Linked DNA regions of Homo sapiens: all the other regions are linked to region 2. The links are contacts of gene promoters, found by promoter capture Hi-C in human tissues and cell types (Jung and others, 2019). All regions are on one chromosome and are shown on one strand. Each heading gives the region's core, a stretch centred on a gene start or on the middle of the fragment in contact. The rest is flanking DNA. Distances are from core to core; before and after follow the strand shown.

Region 1 (2,700 bases), core at 97-2,596, 390 kb before region 2:
AATTTGTGGATAATCTCCTTTGTGAAAGAAAAAAAACTAATTTCAAATTTATTTCAGCCTGCATATGTGCAGAAGAGATTACAGTTGTCCCTCAATATCTGCTCTCCTAACAAAAATGCCTACAGTTTTTAGCTGAAATAAAGTCTACTTTCCCCAAGTCTTTGCTTGCAGCTAGATATGGATGCATGACCAAGTTCAAGTCTGTAAGATGTAGCTATGTGTGTAGTGTGTAATTTCCCAGAGGTGTGTTTAAAGGGAGAGCATGGAATCTTCTCCCCGCCATTCCTCCCTTTTCTTGGCTGAATGTGGACATGATGGCTAAAGCCTGAACAGCCATCTTGGATCAGCAGGTGAACAGCCATGGGTTGAGGTTGTTGGTACAAAAAGACAAAGAAGCTTGGGCCTTCTGTTGGTGAAAAGACATGGAACCCCACATCAGCCCTGGACTGCTCATGTCCACGTCTCATTTATGTGAATTAGAAATAAAATTGTTGTCTTATTTTATCTGTTATTTTGAGGCTTTTGTGTTTCCCAGCTGAACCCGATCCTAACTGACAAAATGAGATTATATATATCACATATAAAACTAGTATTTCCAGGTGCTCAGATAGTCCAGTGAAGTTCAAGTCATTTTCTCTCTAGATGGAGATATGGCAGTATCATGGCTGGCCATTTTTGCTAAGAGTCATGTATCCAGGGATACTACTTACTCCACCATGTCCTGTGATGTTACCTACATTCAACAAAAAGGGTAACAGCTGTTAACAACAGGTCATTTTACAGCAGTTGAAGAAACTAACTGTAGAAAGAGAAGCTAGGAGAGTTGAAGAAACCAATAGCTGCTCAGATTCTACAGGAGCTGGACTAGTAGTAAGAAATGTCAATCATGAGAATAAATCAGATTCCAACAGAATCTAGCAGGGGAACTGTGAGACAAAGCTTCATGACCCATCTATTATTATTCAAGTCCAAATTTAATATAAAAACAATAAACATTTAGACATCTCAAATCCAGACTGGATGTTAGATGAGAAATTAAAGGGCAAATAAGAGGTGAGACTGAGAAGCAATGAGTTGTGCTTCATTGTGTGTCTGTGTTTATTTAATTTTTAAAGGAATTCAGCTTAAAGTACCTTGTGTATGTGCGTTATGACCAATATGAAAGCTTTGGCCATTTATAAATACATGAGCCAGACTGGCCTTAGCCAAATGTGAAGAACTATCAGGACCATTAGCTTTAATTTAAGGAAAGGAAAATAAATGTTTAGAAAATTGGAACCAATTCTTGCTTTCAGTATTAAAAGAAAAATTGCAAGGAACTGAATGTTTCTAGTTCATTTATTTTGCATACTAGAGAAATGAGGAAGAGTAAGGCCTCAATTATTTGTCCTCTAATGTGGACTTTATCCAAAATGCCTGGAGGGGCCGGGTGCGGTGGCTCACACTTGCAATCTCAGCACTTTGGGAGGCCAAGGTGGGTGGATCACCTGAGGTCAGGAGTTCAAGACCAGCCTGGCCAACACGGTGAAACCCTGTCTCCACTAAAAATACAAAAATTAGCCAGGCTTAGTGGTGGCTGCCTATAATCCCAGCTACTCGGGAGACTGAGGCAGGAGAATCACTTGAATCTGGGAGGCGGACGTTGCAGTCAGCTGAGATTGCGCCACTGCACTCCAGCCTGGGCGACACAGCAAGAATCCATCTCAAAAAAATAAAATAATTAAAAAAGTACATGGAGGTCCATTATAAATAAGCCTTACCTGTACACTAAGGCGGGTTGGGAGGGCCTCTCCTGGGTAACACTATGTACTAGCCATTTGTATGAGTTGTATATTGCTGGACCTTCAGATGAAACATTCAGGCAAGTAGTACACATGAAACATTCAACTGTTTCCTTGACAAATCCCTACCTTAGGTCAGTCTTTTCTATACTCAAAGAAACAAATGAAGCTTTTAACAATGTATGAAATGTTTTCCAAATTCCTATGTCATTCAAAAACAGTGGCTATAACATGCACATGTTAGAGGAGAATGCATTTAATGTATCCCGCCTTGTCCAGAGCGTATGCCAAGGTAAGAGCTTGGTTCACGTTACCTCACCCACATCAAGGCCCCAGTGGGTAAGCAAAATGCCCTTTAGCACAAAAGTGCAGAGCGAGTCTTCATTTTTGCATAATACTGCATTGTTTAATTCAAGCATTATTCCCCCAAGAAAACAAGCACTGAGCATCTTGGCATACAAAGGCATATACTGATAGATTGAATTTGCTTTTTTGGAATTAAAAAGTTGGATGGAGCTCAGAACTCCTGTTCTCTGAAGGGTATGAAAGTGCAGGTAGGTGTGACATGCATGAGGCAAAGATGTCATTGGTAAGACAAGTGATCGTTTCCTTGAGTGCATATCTTTGGCTCATACCATTCCACAACCCAGTACTCTAGTAATCTTAAAAACAAGCAAATGTGTAGCTTTCCCACCTTGTCTAACGCTTATGGGATAAAGAAGAAAAGCCAAGTTACCTTTCGCATCTGAGCCAACAATCCTTCAAACTCCTTCAGGTTTAGTGTCGTTCCGCTGTAGGATGTGCAGCTGTTTGCTGCTTTTCCCAGCCAGTAAATGGTAACTAATACCTGTGGAACAAAACGCACAAGAGCAGATTTTTCCCTCAAGAATGACGTTTAAACTAAGGAGTCAATAATGTA
Region 2 (2,700 bases), core at 25-2,524:
GCATGAGGGTCCCTCTATACACTCTATTCGCACCTTGTGCATTTCCCTCCCAGCACTCTACCTGTTTGAAATAACCGTTTTGAGTGATTATTTGATAGGTGTCTGTCACCCGGCCGGACTATAAATTCCATGAAAGCAGGGGCCTGGGCTTTTAAATTCACCACTATCCTCAGGCCTAGTACAAGACCTCGTGGATCCTTAATAAACTCATGTAGGAAAGAATAAAGTAATGCCCACCCCACTGCATAGAGTCCTCATAGGAAGAATCACGTGAGTTTTTAATTCGAGATCCTTGGTAGGACTGTGTGTGTGTGTGTGTATGGGTAGGGTTCTCTAAAGTGTATAGTCCTCACACCAGCAGCATCAGCATCCCATGGGAACTTGTTAGATATACAGATGCTTGGGCCCCACCACATATCTACCCATTCAGAGACACAGATTGGGACTCAGGGATTTGTACTTCAGCAAACCCTCCAGGCGATTCTGATCCAGGCTCCAGTTTGACAACCGCTGCCCTGGTGAAGAGCAATCCTAAGGATACTTTGGGGATGTCATTCACAGCGTCTGGGGCAGAGCACGGTTTACCGTTTACTGAGACTCGACTCTTATCAGGGCTTTGTTTGCACGCTTACAATTAGAGTTATAGATAATATTATTGGCAATGGAAAGGAAAACCTCCTTTTCCTCTCCGGCAGTTGTATCTCTCCCCTGATATTATCTTGTGATTTCCGGATCAAAGAAGAGTGTGTGTGCGGCATATGCCTGGGGGTGGGGATAGGAGGTAGAAGGAAGGAGAAGGTGTCGCCTACAACTTGCAGTTAGCCTGGGTGGGTGTGGGCAGCTCTCCTGTGGGGACATTTTCCTATTGCAAGGGAATGCTGGCGTGTGGGAGAAAAGCCAGGGCTAAGGTAACCCAACTGCCTTTTGGTGCAGACAGACACCAGCCACACGGAGGGGATACCCGGGCTGCACTGCACGTCCTGCCTTTGGGTCTTACTGGGGGACCCATTGCCTCCCTGCGTGTTCCCAGGCGATTGGGGAGGGTGCCTCCCGCAGGCCCTGCCGCCTCCACCTGCAGGGGTCGCCCTGGGAGCGCGGCCCGCCTCCTTCTGCCCGGCCCCCACCCCCCGGCCCCGCCTTTCTCCCATTCGGCCCCCTCCCCGCCGGGTCCCTCCAGCCTTCCCTCGCGCAGCCGCTGCCAAAGCCTGGAGAAGTGGAATCTCGTCAGCGCCGCTCCCTGCGCGGGACTCGCGGAACGGCACTGAGCATGCTCAGTTGCCGGAGCCCGTTCTGGTCTCAAGTAGGAAGCTAGTGCGCTGTAACCGCATCTGATCTGGGCGCTCCGGGAAGGGCGAGACTGGAGCAGAGCCGCTGGGCGCCGGAGCCGAGGCGAGCGCCGCGCGCACCACTGGTGAGCCCAGCTTTCTTCCTTGCCTTTGCCCCGGATTCCGGGGCAGCACGAGAGTGCTGGGGAAACACCCGGGTAGCGGCAGCAGCGTGCGGCGAGCGGCTGCGGGTTCCCCCGGCGGCTTCTCCTCTGCTCCCGGCCCCGGGGCTCCGCGGCCACTGCTGCCCGCTCAGCCGCAGCCACACCTGCAGCAGCTGCCGCGGCATCTGCAGCGGGGCGCCTGCTGCGGAGTCCCGTGCGCCCTGCGCCCGCGCCGCAGGGCCAGTGGCACGGCGACTGCGGGCTCACTCTCCTTGACTTCCATCCCTCCCGCTTCCCGGCGCCCTCTTTCCCTCAGCAGCCCCGGCTTGGCAGGGCCTGGGGCGGGGGAGACCGGGTTGGAGGCGGTGCGCCCGGGTGGGGACTGCAGAGGGGAAAAGTGAGGGTGGGCGCCTGCGGGAAGAGCGCACACCCCCTTGTCCTGGCACCGGCCTCCGCTGTGCCGCTCGGCTGTCTCTCCTGGGCGGCAGCGCGCTCCTGCCGGGGAGTTGGAGCCGGGGTTGGCTTCTCCACGAGGGGTTCAGAGGCCAGCCCATGAGACATGAAAGGGGGGAAAAGTTCCTTTTCCCCCTCGGTGGCAGAGAGAGCGTTTAACTAGAAAATGGCTGTGCATAGGGGACCGACTCCAGGAAACTGGCCACTGGGACCCGAAAGCCCCTGCGCTGCCCACCGGGCGGAATGGAGGGTGGTACGCTAGAAATGACATTTGTGCGGCGAGAACAGAGCTGGACGGAGGGAAGGATGCTGAGACCCATAGAAACAATGAAAGGTGGTCTTCACGTCGGTGAAGTGGTGTAGACTACGGGTTCGGGGCAAACAGCCGAGGGAGCATGGGACTAGAATTCAAAAAAATAAATTAATTTGGATAAATCATATGTGGAGTTGTCACCGACCGTTCTGTAGTCAAGTTCTGCGCGGTTTTAGAGCCACGACTGTCACAGACGTTTTTGGATGGATTGAGTGGTTGAGGAGGGTTAAAATTGAGAGGAGAATAAGGTCAGTGTCGGAAGCTCCAACTGGGCTCTCGGAGGGGACAGTTTGTTTAAGTCCCTCAGTCACTGGCTTTACATTGTGTCTAATTACTTACGTGAAATACCCAAAGGATTATCATAAAATGATGCCATCGGTGGTGTTTGAATTCCAAGGAATGAGGAAACTTTGTGAGGTTGGCATGGGTTTATCATTTGTTTTAATATTTCACTGATTTAAAAAAAACAAACACAATGGCAGTTTGATCTGTTGTTTCTGGAGTT
Region 3 (2,717 bases), core at 40-2,539, 420 kb after region 2:
AAAATTACAGTAAAGCATATATTCTAAAAACAGATTAAATTGGTAAAGATAAATATTTTGTTATTTGAAGGCAGTAAGACTGAATGTTCTGGAAAATGTGCTCATGGCTCACACTTCATTGCTTGATTATAATAGATCGTGAAAGACTAATATTTCTAAAATGTACACCTTATTTTAACAAGATGGTGCCTATGACAACCTTACATTTCATTGCATGTGTTAGCTGTTCATACTGCTGTTGAGCAAGAACGTGAAGTTTGTCCACTGAGATGCCTCCTTGAGAGTGATCTTTAAGGAATTCTGTATCTGAATTTTAAAAAGAAATGCTTTTAAATATAGCACCATTAAAAACTTTTTACATATTGTTATCATCATATAATTTTTCAATCATTTTGCCTACCAATAAAAGTGTTTCATGGAAAATATCTATTAAAACTAAATAGATATTAAAATGTTGACTTAAAAATTAGAACAATAAAGTTAATTCTGTTTCATTTTAATATTGCTTTTCAAAAACAATATTGAAAATATTTAATATTGTTTTTCTCCAAGTTGCTATGAGATAGTCATCCAAGTAGTCATATAAGTCATTTAGACACAGAAGAGAAAATGCCGTCAGTCTCGAGACTAATACTGGATAGAGAAAATAAGATTTATTTTCCAAGATAAAAACGAATGGGCTATAGTCAGATCTGGGAACACACAAGGATATGGTTTAAAATACTAACTTTCCAAAAGAAACTTTGGAAGAAAAAATTCAGAAAAGCAAATGTTATGTCTTCATAACAGATTAAGAAATAATGTCTTACATTTTTTAATTTTTGAAAAATAATTTAAATATATGTATTGACAATATTAATGAAGATATACTGAATGCTACTTTATGTAGATTATTTTAACGACCTCTTGAAGAATTACTAGCCCTTCTAACATTGAGATAATTGTTTAAACATACATTAAACAACTTGTCTAAGGTTATATAGCTACTAAGTGGACAGCCAGGATTCTAACTCAGAAATCTAACCAGAGGACCCAAATTTTTAAACTCTGTATTATACTGCCTCTCTAGAACTCACTAGAGCATGACAGCCAATTATTTATACCATGTATGTGGCTGTTGCCCATTCCAGTACTATCACTAAAGGTTAATTAAACTCCATTTCTTCCCAATTTAGTTTTACATTTCATGAGGTTTTGTTTTTTGTTTTTTGTTATTGTTGTTGTTGTTGCTGTTTTTTTGAGACAGGATCTCACTCTGTCATCCAGGCTGGAGTGCAGTGGCACCATCTCGGCTCACTGCAACCTCTGCCTCCTGGGTTCAAGCAATTCTCATGCCTCAGCCTCCTGAATAGCTGGGACTACAGGTGTTCACCATGATGCCCGGCTAATTTTTGTATTTTTAGTAGAGACTGGGTTTCACTATGTTGGTCAGGCTGAACTCGAACTCCTGGCCTCAACCGATCTACCCACCTCAGCCTCCCAAAGTGGTGGGATTACAGGTGTGAGCCACTGTGCCTGGCCTACATTTCACATTTTTTTTCTCTGTTCTAAAACTATCCATTACTTGTTAAAGGACTATTACAAATTATTATACTCCAAAGTCGTATTATCTATTTCTTTAATTCTATCTTAAAATAATTCCAAGTCGTTAGCAAGGACCAACTTCATATATTTCTCAATGGTTCTAATATTTTTCGATGTTAAAATGTTTTTAAAACTAATTCCTTATTGTTCCATTCTACCTTGTATCTAAGTTTAATAAAATAATCTTTCGGATTCACCCCCACTAAGTTTCTGGCTAACGTTCCACGTTCCCACCAGAGTCACTAGGTCGGCAGCTCCTTATTTGCTCAAGCTTTTAGCTCCTCAGAGTACAGGTTCCTTCAAAAGCCCGCTTACTTCAGGATACGACAACTTTTTTTTTTTTAAATGAGATGGAGTCTTGCTGTCGCCCAGGCTGGAGTGCAGTGGCGCGATCTCGGCTCACTGCAGGCTCCGCCCCCCGGGGTTCAAGCCATTCTCCTGCCTCAGCCTCCCGAGTAGCTGGGACTACAGGCGCCCGCCACCTCGCCCGGCTAATTTTTTGTATTTTTAGTAGAGACGGGGTTTCACCGTGTTAGCCAGGATGGTCTCGAGCTCCTGACCTCGTGATCCGCCCTCCTCGGCCTCCCAAAGTGCTGGGATTACAGGCGTGAGCCACCGCTCCCGGCCAGTATACGACAACTTCTTAGCTTATCCTATCATCTCCTCATCAAGGCTTTCAAAACATTACCAGTACCTAGGAAATGTTTTCCTTTCCCCACTTTCCTTATTTGTATTTTCCTCTGGGCCTTTCTCCTCTAGCCTTTAGTTTATTTTTATTCTGTGGTTTATTTTTTTTCTGGATTTCCACCTCAAAATGGCCCAGGATAAGGCCAGAGTCTCACAGTTCTGAGCTCTAGTTCTCCTGACTGCTATGCTTATTATAGCTGCTATTTCTTCCCCCTTTTTTCCTTCCCCCTTTTCTTTCAGTGTCTACTAATTGTTCTTTGATTATTTCTTAAAGTTCATCTAGAAATTTTCTCAGCCTACCTACCATTCTACCATCTGAATTGGTTATTCTTTGGCTGAAGTCTCTCTGGAAAGAAATTTTCTATAGCAAGTCAAAATTCCATGTGGTACAGTGTAAACCCAGTTAAAGATAGTGTCGTTTAGTGGAAGGAAAATGTGCTAACCCA
Region 4 (2,754 bases), core at 251-2,750, 320 kb before region 2:
GGAAAAAAAAGCTTTACAGCACTGCTATATATAACCTTCCACCTCTGCAGAGACACAGAATAATTATGGAAACAAATTTGGAAAAATAGTTTGTGGTGGTGCAGAAAGAGGATATTAGACTTCAGCTAGCAAGTCTAGGCATTCAAAACACACGTGAATAAGAATTTAAGGGCTTAGCTGGCTAACCCACTGTTACGAGCTAAATTGTCTCCTCCTCCCTCCCCCAATTCGTATCTTGAACTCCTAACCCGTTCTAACTCAGAATGTGACTGTAGTGACTGTAAGAAGGTAATTAAGTTATATGAGGTCATCTGAGGGGGCCCTAATCCAATACGACAGTGTCCTTATAAAAAGGCAAAATATGGACACAGATACATACAGGGGAAAGACCACGTGAAGATGCAGGGAAAGGCAGCCATCTGGGAGCCAAGGAGACAGGCCTTAGAACAAACCCACTCTGATCACACCTTGATCTCAGACTTCTAACCTACAGAATTGACAAAATAAATTTCTATTATTTAAGCCATCCAATCTGTGGTACTTTGTTATGGCCATCAGAGCAAATTAATATACTCATCTAGTACTAAGAATGAAATATCAGGGGTATAAGAGAGGCTGCAGGGCACAAGATTGGATGGATATGATATCTCAATGAATTGTCAATTATATGAAGATCTTTCTTTTCTTTTCTTTTTTTTTTTTTTTTTTTTTTGTGACAGGGTCCGACTCCCATCACCCAGGCTGGAGTCCAGTGGCACATTCAAAGCTCACTGCAGGCTTGACTTCCCAGGCCCAGGTGATTCTCCTACCTCAGCCTCCTAAGTAGCTGGGACTACAGGCATGCACAACCATGCCTGGCTAATTTTTTGTATTTTTAGTAAAGACAAGATTTTGCCATGTTGCCTAGGCTGGTCTTGAACTCCTGGGCTCAAGCGATCACCTGCCTTAGGCTCCCAAAGTTCTGGGATTATAGGCATGAGCCACTGCACCGGTCTTTCTGTCATGATTTTCAATTCTAAGTGCAATTGCTAATGACTTTTCCTGTAGTCTCAAACTCCTTTTTTCACTCCTTTCTCCATATCCCAGTCCCTGCCAATGTGGATCAAACACTCCAAAGACAATACTATAATTTGGAGGGGGAGGGGAACTTCATAGTGGTTATAGAAAAAAAAAATATGTCTTCATTTATACTGAAGCATAGGATTTAACTTCAAAATAGTCCATCCATTAACCTAGTCCAATTTTTTGTAACTTTTTCCTTGAGTTCCAAACCAGCATTTCTAATAGTCTGCCAGACATCTGCACATGAATATCTTTTAGAGATAGCCAACTCAATATGTCCAAAAGAGAATGCATCTTTTCTTTTGGAGCTCATTTCTCATTCCCATGTTCCCATGATTCCTATTAATGGCATCAGTACCCTCCACACTGCTCAAGTCCAAAATGCAAATGTCATCTTCCTAAAATTATCTGTTGTATTTCATCAGTTCTAAGATGTACACCTTTTTTAACCTCTGAAATAAAGATGCATTTTTTTCATTGCCAGTGTCTTAGCATTGTGTCATCATTGAATTGGCAGCTTTTTTAAATGAGCTATAATTTTTAAAAATGGTGTGTGTCATCATTGATGGCATATTACATTTAGTGAAAAGTAAATCCTGTCTCCTCATCTCTAATCCCACTGCTTCTACTAAGGTTTAAGTGTCCATCCTCTCTCATTTGGACTACTTATCTCCTACTTGACTTTTATTGCTGGTATCTTGCCATAATCAGCTTTCTATACGGCCACCTCAGTTATCTGGAACACGAGATTCCCTTGTTTTCAGTGGCTTTTACTGCACACAAAATGAGTCCAAACACCCCCAGATGGCATTTCTGGTCTCAGCTTACTATTCCTGGTCTAGTTTCCAAGCATGGATTTTCTCAGGGACTCTGCGTCCAGCTGCAGCCACTGGACCCAGTGCAAATAATGCAAATGATAGCCACTTCCAGATAAGACCCAGGTCCTTCTGACTCAGAGCCTTTCTCATTCCATGCCCTGAAGCTAGTTGTTCTTCCTCTAACTCCATGATCTTCACTATTTGTAGACGCCCTGTTCAAATCCCACCCCTTCCAAAGTTCTTAATCACAAATCAAAATTTCTTCCTTGGTCTTTCTTGCATATTATACTTCATTAACATTTCACAGTCTACCTTACATTTGACCTTTCTTCTATATTTGTCTTCTAGAAAGTAGTCTCCTAAAAGGCAGGAATTATGTCTTGAAGTGGATTTTTACTTGGAAGGCAAGAGAGAGAACACATCATCTCTATTTGGTATATATGTGCAGAAGAAAATTAGAAAAAAGTCCTTGGATGTCATGCAAGAAAGGTTAACCAAGGAAAACTGTGTTATCTTTAAAGTCCTATAAGCACAAGGAGCCGGTGTTCAGGAGAATGAGAGATCTATGCCCTGGCTGCTCAATAGACGGATACAACCATTTCATTCATCGGGACAAGCAGCTTCTGAAGAGCTCCCAGAGATCCCTTCCTCCTGGCATTCAGACCCTTGTGGGACCTCCTCCCCTTGAATGTGGGCTGGGCCTAGCAACTTGCTTTTAATTAATAGAATAAGGCAGAACTGACAAAACATCACTTCAGAGATTAGGTTATAAAGGACTGTGACTTCCATCTCACTTGTTGTCTCCCTCCCTTTCTCTTTCTTTCTTTCTCAGGCCCTTCCTGCTTGCTCACTCTGATGATGCAAGCTGCAACCC

The links. The method cuts DNA at HindIII sites, captures the fragments that hold promoters and counts their contacts. A contact is called where the count stands out against the background at its distance.
Region 1: a fragment that was not itself captured here is called in contact with the fragment with the promoter of APBB2 in region 2 in 2 of the 25 tissues and cell types used here (hippocampus and liver).
Region 3: a contact is called between a fragment that was not itself captured here and the fragment with the promoter of APBB2 in region 2, in 1 of the 25 tissues and cell types used here (mesenchymal stem cells).
Region 4: a fragment that was not itself captured here is called in contact with the fragment with the promoter of APBB2 in region 2 in 1 of the 25 tissues and cell types used here (hippocampus).

The regions. Positions count from the first base shown.
Region 1 is chr4:41,605,822-41,608,521 of GRCh38, reverse strand. LIMCH1 (LIM and calponin homology domains 1) reads right to left here. Exons shown (of 32, transcript NM_001330672.2): 4 at 2,518-2,628. The coding sequence starts at 2,526. Among named protein-coding and RNA genes, the nearest start is that of LIMCH1, 69 kb to the right of the region's middle. The HindIII fragment of the contact is 3,635 bases long and covers 1-2,700 here.
Region 2 is chr4:41,213,116-41,215,815 of GRCh38, reverse strand. APBB2 (amyloid beta precursor protein binding family B member 2) reads left to right here and starts at 1,274. Exons shown (of 18, transcript NM_004307.2): 1 at 1,274-1,411. RefSeq lists silencers at 1,010-1,179, 1,590-1,899. The HindIII fragment of the contact is 7,499 bases long and covers 1-2,700 here.
Region 3 is chr4:40,791,964-40,794,680 of GRCh38, reverse strand. It overlaps NSUN7 (NOP2/Sun RNA methyltransferase family member 7), which reads right to left. Exons shown (of 12, transcript NM_024677.6): 9 at 205-306. Among named protein-coding and RNA genes, the nearest start is that of NSUN7, 43 kb to the right of the region's middle. The HindIII fragment of the contact is 3,782 bases long and covers 1-2,717 here.
Region 4 is chr4:41,533,121-41,535,874 of GRCh38, reverse strand. It overlaps a transcript of LIMCH1 not described here. Among named protein-coding and RNA genes, the nearest start is that of LIMCH1, 3.7 kb to the left of the region's middle. The HindIII fragment of the contact is 5,667 bases long and covers 1-2,754 here.